Linked DNA regions of Homo sapiens: region 1 is linked to region 2. The links are contacts of gene promoters, found by promoter capture Hi-C in blood cells and fetal thymus (Javierre and others, 2016). All regions are on one chromosome and are shown on one strand. Each heading gives the region's core, a stretch centred on a gene start or on the middle of the fragment in contact. The rest is flanking DNA. Distances are from core to core; before and after follow the strand shown. Region 1 holds the start of NCK1-DT (NCK1 divergent transcript). Region 2 holds the start of FAIM (Fas apoptotic inhibitory molecule).

Evidence for each region. Contacts are between HindIII fragments. The CHiCAGO score rates a contact against its expected background, and 5 or more counts as called.
Region 1: a fragment that was not itself captured here is called in contact with the fragment with the promoter of FAIM in region 2 in 3 of 17 cell types (fetal thymus, naive CD8 T cells and total CD4 T cells); the score reaches 5.9 in fetal thymus.

Annotation. Positions count from the first base shown.
Region 1 is chr3:136,858,622-136,862,212 of GRCh38, forward strand. NCK1-DT (NCK1 divergent transcript) reads right to left here and starts at 3,442. Exons shown (of 3, transcript NR_110177.1): 1 at 3,126-3,442. NCK1 (NCK adaptor protein 1) reads left to right here and starts at 3,587. Exons shown (of 4, transcript NM_001291999.2): 1 at 3,587-3,591. RefSeq lists enhancers at 2,516-2,565, 3,126-3,185 and a silencer at 3,546-3,591. The HindIII fragment of the contact is 1,182 bases long and covers 1,357-2,538 here.
Region 2 is chr3:138,606,420-138,610,075 of GRCh38, forward strand. It overlaps FAIM (Fas apoptotic inhibitory molecule), which reads left to right and starts at 2,352. Exons shown (of 6, transcript NM_001033031.2): 1 at 2,352-2,518. RefSeq lists a silencer at 2,440-2,899 and an enhancer at 3,000-3,089. The HindIII fragment of the contact is 4,797 bases long and covers 1-3,656 here.

The sequences.
Region 1 (3,591 bases), core at 698-3,197, 1.7 Mb before region 2:
CAGCCATGTGCATGTTTATATTTGGAAGCTGGGGAGACAGACTGTGTGAAAGGAAGTCTCTGGGACAGCTCCCACCCCATTAAAACATGTACTGCATCCCTTCTAAGTGCAATTACATACATGCCTTTCTGCCTATCTGCCCTTCCAGTCTATGCTTTCCTTTTTCATTGCTGTTTGCTTATTTTTCTTCTTTGACTCCTCTTTTGCATATATTTTTGGAGGTTTCTTAAATTTTTTTAAAGAGTTCCTGTTAAGAATGAGTGATGAGAAAGATTAAAGAAGGAAAATTAAGAGGATAAACTAGCTGGGTGCTGTGGCTCACGCCTGTAATCCCAACACTTTGGGAGGCTGAGGTGGGTGGATCACCTGAGGTCAGGGGTTTGAGACAAGCCTGGCCAACATTGTGAAACCCCGTCTCTACTAAAAATACAAAAAATTAGCCAGGTGTGGTGGTGTGTGCCTGTAGTCCCAGCAACTTGGGAGGCTGAGGCAGGAGAATTGCTTGAACCCGGGAGGTGGAGGTTGCAATAAGCTGAGGTGGTGCCACTGCACTCCAACCTGGGCAAAAAAGCGAGACTCCATCTCAAAAAACAAACAAACAAACAAAAACCCTAAATGTATGACTTCAGCATACTTTTTGCTGGGTTAATTTTCCCCACTTAAGGTGGTGGTAAGCTACATGAAGGCAAGAACTGTATTTCTGTATTTTACCTGTTGTATTTATATTCACACCTTCTGCCTCCATCGTATGTTAAATATGTAATTAGAATTAAAATTGAGTCACGCTGTGCTAACAGTTTGATGGGTGATTTTGCAGCAACAGTTTTAACTCTGGACAAGTTTCTTCAAAAATGAATATAATATCTCAGTCTGTAAACTTTATAAAATGTATCAACAAATAAAACCATTGTATTAGCTTGGGCTGCCATAATAAAATACTAGATTGGGTGGCTTACACAACAGAAGTTTATTTTTTCAAAGTTATGTAGGTTGGGAGGTCCAAAAGAGGGTGCCAGCATGGTCAGTTTTGGGTGAGGGCTCTCTCTCTGGCTTGCAGATGTCTGTCTGCTTGCTGTGTTCTCAAATGGAGAGAGCTCTCTGGTGCCACTTTCTATAAAGACATTAATCTTATGGGATTAGGGCCCCACCCTTATGACCTAATTTAATTTTTATTACCTCCCTAAAGGCCTAGCTCCAACTAGAGATGGTCCCTGACTTAAGATTTTTTTGACTTTATGATGGTCCAAAAGCCATATGCACTCTAGAATCTGTACTTTGAGTACCCATAAAACCATCCAGTTTTTCATTCAGTATTTAGTAGATTACATGAAATACTCAATACTTTATTAAAAAATAAGCTTTGTATTAGATGATTTTGCCTAACTGAAAGCTAATGTAAGTATTCTGAGCATGTTTTAGGTAGGCTACTCTAAGCTATGATGTTTGGTAGGTTAGAAGCATTAAATGCATTTCTGACTTAAGATCTTTTCAACTTAAGGTATTTTCAGTTTATGGTGGGTTTATTGGAACATAACCCCTTTGTAAGTTAAGGAACATTTATATAGTCACATTAGGAGTGAGGGCTTCAGTATGAATTTTTGGGGGGGATGCAATTCAGTCCATACCAGTCATGATAAAATATGCAGTTATTTAAACCCTTAGAATAAACTCAAAATTCACCGCCATTATTCACTTTGGATGCTAATAACAGAATGTAGACATAGAGTAGCTGTTGCCCAGTTTCATGGTCTACTTGTCCCAGTCAACCTGAGGATAGTACAGCATAAATAGGTAAATTTGTGCTTGACCTTGTGATCCTACATATGGCAGGCTGTCTTAGTCCCTTTAGTGTTGCTAGAAAGGAATACCCAAAGCTGGATAATTTAGAAATAGAAAAGGTTTTTCGGCTTATGGTTCTGATGTCTGGAAAAGTTCAAGACTGAGCATCTGCATCTGATGGTAGCCTAAGACTGCTTCTACTCATGCCAGAAGGCAAAGGAGAGCTGGTGTGTGCAGAGATTACATGGCCAGAGAGGACGCAAAAGAAGAAAGGAAGTGCGACGTTCTTTTTAACCAGCTCTGGTGGAAATAAAGAGAACTCATTTACCCTCTCCCCAGGGAGGACATTAATCTATTCCTGAAGGAACCACCTCCATGACCCAACACTGCCCATTAGTCCCCACCTCCAACATTGGGGATCAAATTTCAACAGGAGGTTTAGGGGAACAAACATCTAAATTACAGCACAGGCCAACCACATGCATGCATTACCAATCACGTAAATAATTTTGAAGTTAAATGCAGAAAACTGCAAACTTTTGAGGCTGATATCCAGGGCCAGGATTAAAATAAAAAGTATTAATGCCTTAAACAGTATTTACTGACCATCTACCCTACTGCAAGGCCCTAGGGAGAAACTGAACAGACATGGTTACTGATTCAACGGAGTTTACAATCTAGGTAGACATACAGGCAAACCATTTCAATAGCTCGGATGGAGAAAACACCTGTGCTCCAAGGAAGGTACCTAACTGAGCAAGCTTCCCTGAGGAGCGATCCTAAACTGTGCCACAAAGATGGTTAAGAAGAGATGAGGCGGCTGGGCGTGGTGGCTCACGCCTGTAATCCCAGCACTTTGGGAGGCCGAGGCTGGCGAATCACGAGGTCAAGAGATCGAGACCATCCTGGTGAAACCCCGTCACTGCTAAAAATACAAAAACATTAGCTGGGCGTGGTGGTACATGCCTGTAATCCCAGCTACTCGGGAGGCTGAGGCAGGAGAATAGCTTGAACCCGGAGGCGGAGGTTGCAGTGAGCCGAGATCGTGCCACTGCACTCCACCCTGGCGACAGAGCGAAACTCGTTTCAAAAAAAAAAAAAAAAGAGGCAGGTTACGGCGCGGGGGCGGGGAAGGGGGCCTGCAGCACCGGCGAGGGGAAGAACCAACTTACTGATGCCTCAGCCAGTGGCTGGAGCCCTAAGAATGGACAGACCTGGCTCCGAAGGTCCTCTTCATAACACTACTGCCGCCAAGAATGTAAGCTGCCCAAGCACGAGGACACTTTTAGAGGGCCCTCAGACTCAGCTTCTTTTGGTCTGTGCCTCAAATTAAGCACATGTCTTACATTTCTCCCAGGTCCCAATTTTCAGGTCTGCTTTTCTTTGTTTTTCTTTGTCGCTCCCCGCTCCTAAGAACCTTCGGCTGGGATGACATTCTTCAGGTGCAGAAACCAGGGGGAAGCTCCCAGAGCAGTGGGGGCTGAACTCAGGACACAGTCATTTTTGCTGTTAAGTCTCTCCTGCGGCGCTGAGGAGGCAGGCTCAAAGTAACCAACCAGAGCAGCCGCAGAGGGAAAAGCTAAGACAGTTCTGGTCCGGCCCAGCGCTTCTCACCCTCTAGCTCTCTACTCTCCGCCGCGCAGCCTCCGCTCCCTCCACATCAGGCACGGCGCTTGATTGACATGAGGGCCCGCCCAATCCCAGTGCGGCAGAGACCGTTGTCGCGTCAGGGACCGGGGAAGGGGGCGACTGAACCTATCAGATTGGGTCCAGAGTGGGTTTCCTGCCCGCGCGGATCCGCCTGCCCACCGC
Region 2 (3,656 bases), core at 1,102-3,601:
TGGTGGCATGTAGCCATAGTCCCAGCTCCTTTAGAGGCTGAGGTAGCAGGATCGCTTGAGCCCAGGACATGGATCATGGCTGCAGTGAGCTGTGATCATGCCACTGCACTCCAGCCTGGAATAAAACCCTGTCTCAAAAAAAAAAAAAAAAAAAAACAACAAAAATACAACAACTTAGACTGGGTAATTTATAAACAGTAGAATTGTATTGCTCACAGTTCTGGAGGCTGGGATATCCAAGATCAAGGCTCCAGCAGAGTCACAGTCTGCTAAGGGCTTGTTCTCTGCTTCAAACATGGTGCCTTCTCAGAGCATCCACACATGGCAGAAGGATCAAACAGGCTCCCTCAAGCCTCTTTCACAAGGGCACCAATTTCCCCCACAAAGGATCCATCCTGTTAATATGAATGTGTTGGGTCTTAGGTTTCAACATATGAATTTTGGGGAGATACCAGCATCCAAACCATAGCAGCCCCCAAATATGCTGGGCCCTCAAAACCCTCCAAAATCCCTTCACTTATCTCTATTCTATGACTGGGCCTACTCTCCACAGGGACCATTCACTGCTCCTCACATGGCCCACTCAACAACTTTTCTCGCTCTCTGTAGGCAACACTGTCTCCTCCTTAAATTGAAAATCAAGGCCACCTAAGACACTACCCAGGCCTGCTCTTCATTCATTCATTCATTTAATAAATATTTACCAGAGCTAACATGGGCCTGCACGGTACAGATGTGAGACATACAAGAATGAGAGCCAAGCGGCCATGGTCTCTGCCTTCATGGATCTCAGTCTACTGTTAAGTTACACATTAAGCAAAAATTACACAAATTATTGCACACCCTGAAAGGGGCTAGGAAGAAGAATCCCTGGTGCTGCAATTTTTGTGTTTTTTTTGTTTTTGTTTTTGAGACGAAGTATCACTCTGTGGCTCAGGCTGCAGTACAGTGAGGCGATCTCAGTTCGCTGCAACTGCCACCTCCCAAGGTCAAGTGATTCTCCTGCCTCAGCCTCCTGAGTAGCTGGGATTACAGACGCATGCCACCACGCCCGGCTAATTTTTGTATTTTTAGTAGAGCTAGGGTTTCACCACGTTGGCCAGGCTGGTCTCAAACTTCTGACCTCAGGCAATCCGCACCTGGCCTCCCAGAGTGCTGGGATTACAGGTGTAAGCCACTGTGCCCGGCTGTTTTTTTTTTTTTTTTTTTTTGAGACAGAGTCTTGCTCTTCGCCCAGGCTGGAGTGCAGTGGCTCAATCTCAGCTCACTCCAACCTCCACCTCCCAGGTTGAAGCGATTCTCCTGCCTCAGCCTCCCAAGTAGTTGGGACTACAGGCATGCACCACCACGCCCCTCTAAGTTTTATATTTTCAGTAGTGACGGGGTTTTGCCATGCCTGCCTCAGCATCCCAAAGTGCTGGGATTACAGGCGTGAGCCACTGAGCCCGGCTGTTTCTTTTTGTGTGTGTTTTTTTTAATGAAACAGGGTCTCGCTCTGTTGCCCAGGCTGGAGTGTAGTGGTGCAATCACAGCTCTCTGCAGCCTCTACCTCCCTTCAGGGCCCAAGCAATTCTCCCACCTCAGCGTCCCAAGTAGCTAGGATTACAGGCCTGAGCCGCTAATTATTTTCTTTTCTTCTTTCTCATTCTCTCTCTCTCTTTTTTTTTTTTTTTACCATGTTGCCCAGGCTGGTCTTGAACTCCTGGACTCAAGAGATCCGCCACTCTGCCTCCCAAAATGCCGTGATTACAGGTATGAGCCACCACACCCAGCAATGCTGCAAGTCTTATGGGCCAGGATAGTGTAATCTAAGAAATGATATATGAAGAACTCTCACAATAGGGAAGAGGTGAGGAGTGTCCAGGCAGAGAGAAGAGCATTTGCAGAGGCCCTGGGCGAGAAGAAACCTGCATCCTTTAAGGACCTAAATGAAGCCAAGCAGGCAGAGGCTAGATCACACATGGGGGCTTCATGCCCACCTTAAGTAGTTTGGGTCTTTAAAAAAGGAATGAGACTCATAAAGAGGTTTTAAGGAGCGAATGCTATTGCTGCCATGAACAGATATTCCTTCCCCATAGCTGCAGAGCAGGCACAGGGCTGTTTTTGCCCGCCAGTATGTCCCCACCGTCTAGCCCAGAGCGGGGCCAGCGGCCGGCTCCTACCCACACTTGCTGGCAGGAAGACTGGACGCACTGCGGGACATGGTGATGTCCTGGGTTGGGGCTGAGGAAGGCCTATGCGCGGAGGGTGCGGCCTTCGGCTAAGGCAGAGGACCAGGGTTGGGTCCGTGGCGGCGGGAGGGGTGGCCTCCTGCGCTGGTCGCCCCAGGGGACCTGAGAGGCGCGACAAACAGTCGGCGCGTTTGGTACTCGCGCCTGCAGAGCTTTCAACCTCCGCGCCGGCTGCGCCTGTTTCTCGGCCAGGGGAGCAAGGCCACGCGGCCTACGCAGCCGAGTCGGAACCAACCGGTTGTTTGGTGAAACCTACCCCAGAGCCTCCCGCGGCCCACAGAGCACAGGTGAGGCAGCAGACCGGGTGGGGTCGGTGTCGCGCCTGCGCCCGCCCGGACGCCTCGGGCCCGCCCGCTCCGCACCCTGGAAACCCCTGCACTCAGCCCCCCGGCGTCCCCACGCTCTCGGCCCTGCTGCGCCGGCGGCGGCCATCTCTGGGCGGCGGCGGCGGGCGGTGTTTGCGCGGTCGGTGAGACCCGCGCGGGTGAGACGCTGGGTGAGTTCCGGACGCTTCCAGCCGGCCCGCCGGTGATCCCAGACCTCGGGGCGGGACGCGGCTCCCGCTCACCGCCGGCAAAGGTGGAGGTGCGGCGGGGCGCGGGGCGCGGGGCCAGCCCGGGGCGGTGCGGGGGCGTCCCTGCCTAGCGAGGCCCTGCCCCGCGACCTGCCGCACCCTCCTCCGGCCTGTTCGCGACCTCTAAAGATAATACTTCTCACTGTCGAAAACGTGGAACAGAAAGCAAGGAAGCAAGCAAAGCAGCCGTGCCGCTGCTCCCCAGAGACAAGCTGCGTTAACATGAGGGTGTATATTCTTCCAGATGGTTTTTCCTTGTAACATGAGCGGGGCTTGTTTTTGCAGAACCTGCATCATAAAGTGCTGAAACTCTCTCTCTCTCTCTCTCTCTCTCTCTCTCTCTCTCTCTCTCGACTCTCTCTCTCTCGACTCTCTCTCTCTCTCTCTCGACTCTCTCTCTCTCTCTCTCTCTCTCTCGACTGTACATTCCTGTGTGTCAGGTTGACTACCTCATCCATCCCTGACTCTTGGCATGGCTTTGGACTGTGATTTACTAAATGTAGTTTCTCCCTGATGGTGAGCGTACAAGTGGTTTTCAGTTTTTAGTTATTGCAAAAAGTAATTCATTGAGCATCGTTGTATCTGGGTTTTTGAGCGTGATCATTTCTGTAGAAAGAATCGCACAAGATTCGTTCTAAAACAAGATAGAATCCACGGTCTATACCACAAGGCTTCTGGTATAGATTGTGAAATGGCCCTCAGAAAAGTTATTCTCCTTTTTGTACCTCCAGTAAGTAGCATTTGGGAATACTTGGCTCGAGGAGCTTCCTGAGTGATTTTACTGGAGACCCCCCTCACTTCATAAGGGGCCGGCCCGGAGATGAAGATGTCAACACTTGAGTGTGACTTGC